Regions from separate parts of the Homo sapiens genome. Here region 1 is linked to region 2. The links are contacts of gene promoters, found by promoter capture Hi-C in blood cells and fetal thymus (Javierre and others, 2016). All regions are on one chromosome and are shown on one strand. Each heading gives the region's core, a stretch centred on a gene start or on the middle of the fragment in contact. The rest is flanking DNA. Distances are from core to core; before and after follow the strand shown.

Region 1 (5,967 bases), core at 1,237-3,736, 2.1 Mb after region 2:
ATTACTAGTAACTGATAAATTATAAATTATATTCATTTATTAATCTCTATAGCTGTATTTTTATCTTTTATACAGGTCACGGCATTTTCTTTTTGTATGGGTAGTCTTCTCAGAATTTACCATCACCTTGTCTACATAAAACACTAAAAATATGTTCTAACTATAATTTCAATTACTTTTTTTAAAAAGGTAAGAACTTAAGGTGTAAAAAAATGCATATTAAAGATGTTTCTAGATTTTTTCTGTTTTAAAAAACTATATATTTCTACCATTTTAAAATAATTATAGTTAACATTACTGTTTCTACTAAGACAAGTATTTTTAACCAACTTGCCTTTTTAGTCTCTGCAAAAACTTAGTTATACTTTAATTTTTGAACTATGAGAACACATGGACACAGGAAGGGTAACATCACACACTGGGGACTGTTGTGGGGTAGGGGGAGAGGGGAGGGATAGCATTAGGAGATATACCTAATGCTAAATGACAAGTTAATGGGTGCAGCACACCAACATGGCACATGTATACATATGTAACAAACTTGCACATTGTGCACATGTACTCTAAAACTTAAAGTATAATAATAATAAAAAAACAGCAACTCTCTTTTTGCTCACTTTTTTTCAATAATCAAATTATATAATTATAACATCAAGTTTGACTGTCATAAATAGGCTTTGGAACAAACACAACTGATTCTTAGCAAACATGCAAGTAAACTGGTAGGAGTATAAACTCGAGTGTAGCACATACAATATGCCTTGGGCATCGGTCAATCTGTTCTACAAAGGAAATATAGATCTTTGATGTTCTTGGAAGAAGATTATGTAAAGGTGAGTCAGAAGAGTGACTCCTATATCTTGTGTCTGTGTTTCCATGGGGATAGCAACACCTGTTCATGTGCCTCTCTTTACTACTGAGTGTGAAGAAAAGGAAGAGACTTCTACCCTACCTATGAAATACCATGGATACCACTGCACCTAAAACATAGTAAATGTTCACTCAAATAGATATAAAATAAACATATTAATAACCTATAAATGAATAGATAAAATCATCTACTTAGAATAACCTACTAAACACAGTGGTCGTTATTTGAAAACAGTTGTTAAGGAGGGATTTTTGAAGAAAAAAGTGTTTTTCCCCCTTGCACACATTACATACAGATGTGAATACATGCTGTAGGAAAATCTCTGTCACAGACTTAGTGAAACAGAACAGAGCTCATAAATTTGGGTTTTTCTCTGTTTGAAGAATAAGAAAGTGTAAGAAAACAAAAAATTAGAAAAATTTCAGGAGTCTTTAATACTGACAAAGATTACTTTAGTAATATTAATAAAGCAATGCTATAATTTGAATTGCTCAGAATTATTAAAACTAACCGTAAGGCTATAACCTGCTTATTTGCACTATGTGATTGATGCTCTTTTATATTTTATAGTGATAGCTCCTGGGCAGAAACCTTTGTCAATTAAGACAAATTACTGTGCCTCCTGGATTTCTCTTTTTATGTCTGTCAGCACATTATATCTTTATGGCCAGCATTTATTTCTGTAGGAATATTGTAGCTCTACCAACTTCAACTTTAGAGGCATCTCAGACCATCTAAATAGAATTCAAATAGTCCAGAAAGAACACTATTTTTCCCAAAGAGTTATCTGATCCATGTGTGATTTTATGGAAGAGATTTGAAAGTATGTCTTGCTTTCTTTAGGATCTTCCCCGAAGGCAGATTCACTAAAGTGTTTAAAGAGATTCTACTCTCATGAATTAAATCTTTATATTTCTAGAAAAGAGAGATTGATGGTCAAATATTTTTTTCTTTATAACAATTTATTAAAATGTTGGTTAAAAGTGTTCTTTAAATTGAGACATTATTGATAAATTATTAAAACTTCACATATTATATGTCAAATTAATACTTCAAAGTCTAATAGTAAAGTGAAAGATTCATACATTAATGTGTCAACAGTGTTTTCCTTCACCTGACAGCCCCCAACACCAAAATTATATAACCTTAAATAAAAAAAAAAAACTAAAACTGAACCATAAAATATTTACAGTTTACATATTCTTTTCAGTTTTCTTTTTGGAAATATGTGGCATCAATGCAATGAAGTATTAAGAAAAGTTCAATGAGAAAGCTTTATTAAGATTACCATTTTTAGCATGGCTAATGGCTATGATCTTAAACTGTTAAGTAGTTCCCCATGAACTCTTAAAGAGCTATGCTGCCATCTATTGACAATGCAAATGTCTTTTAATAGTTATTAAGTATATGGTGCAAGAAAACACATTTTTAAATAAAAATAATCTGTATTTGGAAAGTAGGTGTTTTTAAAAAATCCTTTGTATGGTAAATGGGTGATATTCAAAATTATAATACCCTATTTTTTCTTTCAATATGGAAGGCTTATTAACAAATTATATTGTACTAGCAAATTTGCTGAATGTTGCAGATATTTTAAAGCACTACAAGCAAGCAATCTGCAAGAGTTAATGTCTTAACTGTAACTGGGCTTATGCATCACAATATCGTTATGCCGTATTTACTACATTGAATTTAATGGGATTAGCATGCATTATTAGGAATGTAAAACATCGTTTTAAAAAGGTAAACAAGACTCAGCAAAATGGCTATTTGGAGAAGGATAATTAAAAAGAATGTATGATAAAATAATATAGACACAAAAGCATGTTTACTGTTCACGATGTTTTACAATAAGGTGAAAAGCACCTGTATTTAATGTCTGCTGAAGCAGAGGCTTCCTAAAGAGAGCAAGAGAGAACTGTATTTGGACAGTTAGAATTTAAATGGTTAAGCTTCCTTTTTTTTTTCTTTTTTCGAGACGAAGTCTGGCTCTGTCACCCAGGCTGGAGTGCAGTGGCCCAATCTCAGCTTACTGCAACCTCCACCTCCTGGGTTCCAGCAATTCTCCTTCCTCAGCCTCGCAAGTAGCTGTGATTACAGGTGTGTGCCACCACGCCCGGTTAATTTTTGTATTTTTAGTAGAGACGGGGTTTCACCATATTGACCAGGATGGTCTTGAACTCCTGACCTCAGGTGATCTGCCTGTCTTGGCCTCCCAAAGTGCTGGGATTACAGGCGTGAGCCACCGCGCCCGCTGGTTAACCACTTTGAATGCAGGCTATATACATATGTTAGAAGTCCTTCTGAAAAAAATGTTCTCCTCTTTTTCTATTGAAATATTTAGTGGTTTTTAGTAACAGGATGCTAAATGAAGAAAATGTACATAAATATACCCCCTACTTCTACTCTCATAAGTGAGGAAGAGCAGGTTATTTGCCCTTCCTAATGGGAAAATACAATTCCCATTGACTAGGAAAAGTGCTTGACAGAACATTGGGGTTTGAAGGCTTTCTCGGTCTTGGATCCTTATTTTAAGATCTTAGTGTGAGGCTATGGGTTGTTAATGAGAATTCTTAGATATCCTTTGAGGAAATTATCATCATTACCTATCTGATTGGGACAAGTTTACACTAATCAAAATTTGAAAACAGAAGTCATGGAAAGAGGGAAATGGGTTGGTAAATTAACGTCAACACACCCAAAGGAGCTATGTGTTTGTGATGGAGCAGCTAGACTGGAAACCTTTCTGGACTCTGCCACTCTAACTTAAAGTTCATATTCCATTCAGTCGTGTTTACGTATGCAAAGTGAATTAAAAGAGCTATGACTTTGCACTCCTATGTAACAAAGACATTGCTATAGCAGCAGACAAGCCTCCAATACTAGACAGATAGATGTTGTTCATCGCCAACTGGTGACAGTGGCTAGAGAGGGAGAGCTCAAGTGCTACAGGACTTGTCTAAGCAGGATACACAAAAATCCTAAAGTTTTTTCAAAGTTGGAAAAAGTAAAATCCCTTCTCAACTTTTCCCTACCAAAGGCTGACCAACTCTGGATAAAAGGAAATTTTGGTACTTTTTAAGTTTGCTATTCTTATGTTTTTATCCTTTCTTCCCCATTCACTATACTGCCTTTTTGGGGGCAAGGTTGGAGTAAGGAAGGAGTAGGGCAGGGAAACTCTTACTTGACTAGCACATAGGTAATTCAGTGTTGTTTTACTCTGGATAATTCTAATTAAAGCTCATTTTATCTCTCAGGTTTTCTTGGGTGCTTCTTGCAATTATGGGAGTGTAGCAAGTGTGTCTTTTGGCTTAAGTAGTGTTTCTTCTTGAACTGGCTTCTTAATATTGCCCCTCAAATTCTTTAGTTATTGATGTACTCAAGCCTTTTTGGGTGTGGGTACCATCACCCTCTGATACCATTGATACCATCCAGATCACAGTTGTCCCTTTTAAAGCAACTATAGGCTGATATTGGCATTGCAGATAAGCATCAGGTACTTCAACCAGTTCTGGATAATCACATAACATTGACCTCCTATCCAAGGTAGAGCAGGTAATTTGCAAATGTAACCATCTATCCTGTTGCAACAGGCTCATTCCATAAGCATCTCACCCTTTACTTTTTCACTTTTTTTCAGGAGAGTTAGCCACTAGCTCATAGTTTCACATATGATCCAGGACACATACAATATCTTCAAAACCTAAAATGAAGAGTCACTACTCAGCAACCCTCTCCAACCTGAGATGGAAGAATGTTTTTAAAAATAGCACACTCTCTTCAAAGAAACGCTCCAGCTTCCAATAATCTAAACTCTTGCACCATCAAATTGTCGATGGATTAAGAATTGCAAACTGGTTTTAAAGATCTCTTTAAGTATTCTGCATAAAGCATGTAATAATTTAATTTGGAATCTAGGAGCCCATTTATTTTATTTTTGGGTTTTTTTGTGGCCTAAAAATAAAATAACAAAACAACAACAACAACAACAACAACAAAACCAGAGTGTCATTTCGAGATGCTGACACCAGAGTAGAAGGATGTCAGACTAAACATTCTATGATGTTCCACACTGGAAATATGGATACTAAGGTGAAGAAGATTTATGTATATCAGGTATTAAATTATAAAAATAAGAGTATCATGGACACACTCACCAAATCTTTGTATGTTATAGTTTGCTTGGAGGAAACCATCTAAATCTTGAGAAATCAAAATTTTGAGTCAAACCTTAGAACCACATAGTATAAATGTAGAACATAGGAAGAGTTATCATTTGTTGCATACTTACTCTATGTCAATTTTTATGTGCTAATTTGGTATATTAAAATGATTTCATTGAGTAATTACTACTATCTTTACTTTGTGTGGAAAAAAAGACATGAAGCTTAAAGAAATTATTCTTACTATGTCCATTAAAACATAGCTGCTAAATGGTAACTGGAATTTGACAACAAAGACTAGACTTTTTCCATTTTCTACTTTCTGACTTCAAGAGTTGTTAGAGAAGGTCCTGATAAGTTCTAATGATATTAGATATATTGTTGGTTATGGCTTTGATAAAATACAATAAATATATGTTAGATTATTGAAAGGAGCAAGAATGATTCACATTTGCTATTTGCCTTCTGAAGTTGTTATCTAAAGGAGTTAATAAAGTTTTCCTATGACATAATCTATAATTATAACCTTAGAGTCAAAATCCTGATATCCTATAGACTTGAAAATATACAGCTATCCATGTCCTCTAATTTCTACCCTTGTGAGTGATGGCTTTGCCCCTGTAAGACTGCATCAAGAAAACCAGTAGCCAGAATATAGGAATACACCAGGTTCTGAATAGCTAGGTTACAGGAAATGTGTGTTTATCATATTTACAAATCAGCATTACTAACATTATGAACCGAAGAACAGTTTTCATCTCCTTGGCATTCTGAGGCCCATTTATGTAAGCTGAGATTCTTTTTTTGTTTTTTTTTTCAGGTTTAATTATTTTATTCTATTCTTAATTGGCAGATAAAATTGTATGTATTTATCCTGTATTCAAAACAACAGGTGGTTTTGAAGTATGGGTTTTTTTATTTATTTTGCATGTG
Region 2 (6,189 bases), core at 1,572-4,071:
GATCACCAGCTCATAAGGCCGCTGGGGGTCGCGCTTGGCCGGGACTCGGCGTGCTGTGCGCAGCTCCCCGGTGCGCCAGTCCATGCGAAAGAGGTTCATTTCGTTGCCACGCACGATGCTGTAAGTGAGCCGGGCGTTCTCGCCGTCGTCCGCGTCCACGGCGGCCACGCGGGTGAGCAGGTAACCCGGCTCCGCCGAGCGGGGCAGCACCTCACGCGCTGGAGTCCCGTTGCGCCCTGGTAGAGGCGCCACGATGGCAGGGGCGTTGTCATTTTGATCCACTATGAGGATGTTGACAGTGGCGTTACCAGCCAGCGCCTGGGGGCTGCCAGCGTCCCGGGCTTCCACCTGAAAACTGAAGTCCTTCAGCTGCTCATAGTCGAAGGAGCGCAGGGCGTACAAGTAGCCGTTCTCAGAGTTGATAGAAACGTAGGTGAAGACGCTCATGCCCTGGATCTGGCACTCGAGGATAGAGTAGGCAAGCTGGGCGTTGGCGCCCTCATCCCGGTCGGTGGCGCTCACCGCGTAGATGTAGGCGCCAGGCACGTTGTTTTCAGTCACATACACGTCGTAGACCGGCTGGCTGAAACGCGGCGCGTTGTCGTTCACATCCGACACTTGTACCTGGATCGACTTACTGGTGGAGAGCGCAGGCTCGCCCCGGTCCCGAGCCACTACAGTCAGGGTGTAGGAGTCCCCCGCCTCTCGGTCCAGGGGGGCTTCGGTAACGATGGTGTAGTAATTCTTAAAGGAAGACTTGAGGCGGAAAGGCACGTCTCCCAGTAGCTCGCACTGCACCTGCCCATTCTCCTCTGAGTCGCGGTCAGTCACGCTGAAAAGGGCCACCACAGTGCCGGGCGCCGCGCCCTCACTCACCGCTTCCTTCACGGTGCTGAAGCTGATCTCTGGCGCGTTGTCATTAGCATCCAGTACTCGCACTAGCACCTTGCAGTGCGCAGGCACGGCGTTGGGGCCCAGGTCCTTGGCTTGCACGTACACTTGGTACACTGGGCTCTCTTCATAGTCCAACTCGCCGCTTACCTCCAGTCTGCCAGTGCGCGGCGAGAGTCCGAAAAGCTCCCGCGCCCGGGGCGAAATGTGGCTGCTGAAGGAGTACACGACCTCACCGTTCTGGCCCTCGTCCGGGTCGGTGGCGTTGAGCTGGATCACGAGAGTGCCTGGGGGAGAGTTCTCTGGTAGGGACACAGTGTAGACGGGTTGGTCGAAAGCGGGCACATTGTCATTGGAGTCCAGCACTCGGATGGTGAGTAGGGCCGTGCCGGTGCGCTGCTGCTGGGGGGGCAGGCCTGCTCCCCCGCCACCTCCCCCTCCTTCTCCTACTCCTCCCCCACCTCCTCCGTCCACCGCGGTCAGCACGTAGCGGTGCACCGCTTGCTGCTCTCGGTCCAGTGGCTTCTCCAGCACCAGCTCAGCGAATCGGTTGCCATCCCCCTGGGTCTGCACGTCCAGGGAGAAGTAGCTGTTGGGGGTGATCTCGTAGTCGCGCAAGGAGTTGGTGCCCACGTCTGGGTCGAATGCGCTCTCCAAGGGGAAGCGAGTGCCTGGCGTGGCGCTCTCAGAGATTTCCACCGTCAGGTCTGGCTCCGGGAAAGAGGGGGGGTTGTCATTAATGTCCAGCACCTCGATCTCCACCTGGAACAGCTCCAGGGGGTTCTCCAGAAAGACCTCCAGGTGCAGGACACAGGAGGGGCTCTGTTTGCAGATTTGTTCGCGGTCTATTTTCTCGTTCACGTACAGCACCCCTGTCTCCAGGTTGAGGTCTAAGTAAGGGGTCCTTGAGTTGGGCACCGTCTGAAACCCGCGAGCCGAAAGTTTTGTAATGTCCAGACCCAGATCTTCAGCGATATTCCCCACGAAAGTGCCATGTTCCTGCTCCTCCTGTACCGTGTAGTGAAGCTGGGAAAAGACTCCTTCCACCATCCAGAGCAAGGCAAACAATAATAGCACAATCATCTCCAAAAGGAAAGGAAGTAGCTTCCCGCAGCCAGTCAGCCACCCAATCACCTCCCCCACCACCACGAAACAAAAAAAAATCTGAAAAAATACAAATAAAAGTGCGCTACGTGGGGGCTCCTGTGGCTTTCTGTCTTTAAAAATCTTACTCCTTTTGCTTCATTTTAGAGCTTCCCGCAATCCAGCCTCATTTTTTTTTAAATCTTAGCACAGGAAGGGTGACAGGCGTCCCCTTTCCTCATCTGTAATCTTTCCACTGACTAATTAATAAAATAACAATAATACAATAGTCAGCGTCCTTTATTCCGACAGTCTTGGCGCTGGCAAATCCCAAAGAGGAAATTTCGATATTTCAAGACTGTCCTCGGTTTGTCTTCTTGCTGATGGGAGGAGAACGAGGAGGAGGAAAAAGAGGAGGAGGAGGAGGAAGAAGAAGAAGAGGAAGAGGAGAAGGAAAAGGAGATGCTGTTGGCACCGTTAAACATGCCTCTTAATGTCAACGGCTGGCAAATGCAAAAGGGCTTAAAATCAGCGATATAATTTTGTGCCGGAAAAGCACAGAACGGCTCTGCAGCTTAAAACTTTCATTCTCTTCATTTCTCCGGATGGATGTTCTTCTTGACATTTTTTTCCTCTTTCGCTCTATTTGTATTTTTTGTCTTTCAGAGTCTTGGTTCCCTCTGTCCTCATCTCCACCGTTACTTGCCTCTCTGTAAGTGTAATGAGCAGTTTCTTTTCTGCTGTTTTCTTCCCAAGCCTCTTTCCCTCTAACCTGTCTCTTTTTCCTTCCAGTCCTTCCTTCCTCCTGCTTCAGCCTCTGAGCCTGTGGTCTGGGCTGGCAGTTTCTGAGCTCCGAGCGCTCGGCTTCTCCGTTTTTGCGCAGCGCCCTCATTCTGCCAACCAATCGCCCAGGAGCACCACCCACCGAGCTGCCGATGATTGGCCAAACTGGCCGCCAAACAGACACGTCACGCGGCAGCCGGGCGGGGCGGGACAGAACTCTCGCCCGAGCGGCCGGGGTGAGTGTGAGTGTGAGAGCGAGAACAGCCCCGCAGGTCCCGAGGCGCTGGCTGGGGACAATGCCGCGGAAAGTTCCCAGTCCCCAGCCGCAGGTAATGGGGAGGGAATAGAGAGGTTCCCCTGTTTGCATCAGCAAATGCGAAAACATAATAGCAACAGCTGCGATATCCTCTCCTAGGAGCGGGATTTCCAATGATGCTAACATTCTTTTTCCTTTAAGGTATTTTCCCTAATACGCATCATGGAAATAAATCATCGAGAAGGGAAAAAGTAGCGCAGGGCCCACTAATTGGCAAGGGTTACCTAATTAAGGGACCCTAGCAGAGACTGGCAGGGCATTTTAAAAGTGAGTATTATATGGCATGTGTCAATCTAAAGGTGAGGGGGTCTGACGGGGCCGTGAGGAAAGGCGCGAAGCATACGGAGTAGGGGGTGGAGGTGACTCCTAAAAAGCGGAGGAATTCACGCTAAAGGATGTGGGGATGACAGCGCTTACAGACGGGCAGACGCGTTCGACGTGCTTCTTTCCTCCCAAAATACATATTCACAAAATACTTACCAAGTAGATTAACTCACTCGAGGACCTAGCTTCGAGCCGTGAGCGCGTTCATCAGTGACTGAGGAGTTGATTTGAGCCGCTTCCTACAAGCCCGCCATCCTAACGCCGGGCTCTGGGGCATCCGGCACACAGCACCGCCAAGCGCTGCAAAGCGCCTCTGATATCCCTGCGCCTTGTGCGGCCAAGTGCCACGCAGCGGCTGGGAACACCGGCTATTTTCTATTTTTTTTTTGGCAATTGGAGATCGATCCCTTTACCCACCATGCTAGATTAGACCACTGATTTCTGCCAATCCTGGGGTCAGCCCGCGGGATGAGGACAGTGGGGCGGCGGCGAACGCGGGCGGGGTGGTGGGCAGGGCCCGTGCACACGAGGGGCCCGAGTGTGCACCGCTGCGGGTATCTGCGAACACGTTTGCACATGCACGGTACTTGCATCCATCCTCCCTGGCCCAGGGCTTAGCTCTGTGTAAGCCCCAACGGAGCCTCCCCGAGTTCCGAAGGACGCGCTTGACCAGCTGTGAGTGCCCCTTCCGGAGGCGCAGGGGCAACGCGGCACATCCACATAGCTAGTTCTTGTGAAGTTAAAACACAGCGCGAACTCTTTAATGCTGGAGAGTGGATAGAATGCCAGTTCTCTAAGGAAAGATCTATAAATATATATTTTTAATTAATGGGCCACTAGCAAGGAATTGGTTGTTTATTCACGAAAGAAGCCCCTATTCAATCTCCTTTTTATGCAAAGAGATAGGAAGGTCCTTTGCTGCTTTCTGGTAATGAATGACCCAAGAATACACCACCACAACCTGCGGGAAAAGTAGAGTCGTTTTCCGACCTGGAGATACGTTGCCATTTCCTCCTGGCAAGGAGTTAAGGAGGGCTAGTGTCCATGGGCGTGATAGTAGCCTGAGACGTGCTTCTGAGAGTCCCGCGAATGCACGTCTACTGCCCTGATTTCCGCGCCCCAACTCCCCGCAACGCCGGGTCCCCCCGGCCCCCGCACTTGGCTCTTTCATGAAGATGGGTCCTGCCTTTGAGCGCTTAGAAGGAAAGGATTCCAGCAAAAATGGCTAATCCTTTTCCAGCTGCAGTAAATTGAAGACTGGCCAAAGCCAAGCGAAAACCGCTGCAGTTAAAATGATTTTAGCATCACGTCTGCGGCTGAGAATGGAGCGGCAGTGTATAAAGGGACCTGTGGATCAATGAAAAGGAGATTATAGTGTATCTGAATATTAATACGGTATTGCATCTGTACTTCCACCCCTCCCCCCTTTCTTTTTCTTCAGATCTGCAGAATTGAAATGAAATGTTTTGAGCTCTTCAAGCTGACTCGTCAGAATCCTGGAGCCTTTTAAAAAATGACGGTAATTTTCTAATGCGTTCATTTGTACGTATGGAAACACTTGTGTGTGTGCGCGCGAGTGCGCGCGTGTTTGCATGTGGGAGACATGCAGCTGAATGACAATGCAGATCCAGAAACTGGGGAAGAGGGTTTCTACCCCTGAAATGTAGATGAAGTTTGAGCTGACTTGGGGCATATGCTGAAAGCCAGAGAGCTTCCAGAGGTGGAGATGAGATGGCCAGATTTGCCTGTAAATAATCACTACATCCACTGTAACACTTGAGCTGCTTTTATTTTTTTTTATTTTTTATTTTTATTTTTGGTAGCAGATGTGTTTGAATGGAACTCTCTCCGCAAACGTGGGTTACAGGCGTCTCCTAGCGGCGAAATCAGCATAGGGCAGGCCAGAGAATTTTGCTTTGGAGAGCTCGCCTTTTGGGGGCTCTACAAGATTTCTTGGGTCATAGGGGTCTGTGTCCGCACCAGCGTCGCTGAGCCCAGGCCCCCTAGAGGTCTCGCCTCTCCGACTTCTAGTCTTTGTGGCGCCAGCCAGGGACCGGCGGAGTGACGGTAGGGTCTTCTTCCCGGCCGAACAGAACAGAGCCTGGTCCTCCGCCTCCCGCTAGATAGCTCCAGCCAAGGGCAATTCCAAGAGCATTTTGTTTGGAGCCAAGATCAGATAGTGGCATTAATAGCCTTCTATGCCCCTTTACCCTAGAGCCTTTAAAACAACCATGCCCCGTCACCCACAAAACAAAACAACACTTTAAATTTGCCTTTTAAAATGCCTCTAAAATGTAACAGGTTTACTTTTTCCCTTGCTGTGTCAATCAAACAGATCCCTGCCTTTCGTTTTTCTTTTTCATTCTTACTCCCGTGGACCCCAGAATTTAGTGAGATGAGGTTTGTATATACGGCAGCCTCAGTAATGAGGCTGACTACCTCTTTGAAGTGTAGAGCATCATGTATATTCTGTGTTCCTCAATCCCCCCGTTACTGGAGCGGAAAAGGAGAAGGAAATATTTTGTACGTAATCCCTTCTTCACCCTCCCCCGTCCACCCCCTAGGAGCGCAAACTGTTTGAGCCAGGACAAACTGCACCCTAAGAAACAGAGGAATAGTTTTATTATTTGGAGGGAGGTTATCAAAATCAGTTTTCATAAAAGTCCTGGTTTATATATTAGAGTGATAGTGCACATTTTTTATTTCATTGGGCTTTAAGTGCAGCAGAAACAGGGGGGCGCTAAGGATCCCACAAGTGTGTTTTACAAACTTTGAAACTGGGTTAAGGGATT

The links. Contacts are between HindIII fragments. The CHiCAGO score rates a contact against its expected background, and 5 or more counts as called.
Region 1: a contact is called between a fragment that was not itself captured here and the fragment with the promoter of PCDH10 in region 2, in 2 of 17 cell types (fetal thymus and M0 macrophages). The highest score is 8.8, in fetal thymus.

The regions. Positions count from the first base shown.
Region 1 is chr4:131,088,371-131,094,337 of GRCh38, reverse strand. No RefSeq gene overlaps it. Among named protein-coding and RNA genes, the nearest start is that of LINC02377, 290 kb to the left of the region's middle. The HindIII fragment of the contact is 679 bases long and covers 2,147-2,825 here.
Region 2 is chr4:133,145,926-133,152,114 of GRCh38, reverse strand. It overlaps PCDH10 (protocadherin 10), which reads right to left and starts at 2,821. Exons shown (of 5, transcript NM_032961.3): 1 at 1-2,821. The coding sequence starts at 1,974. It overlaps PCDH10-DT (PCDH10 divergent transcript), which reads left to right and starts at 2,999. Exons shown (of 9, transcript NR_125885.1): 1 at 2,999-3,086; 2 at 4,839-4,916. RefSeq lists a silencer at 2,768-2,907 and an enhancer at 3,018-3,077. The HindIII fragment of the contact is 9,721 bases long and covers 1-6,189 here.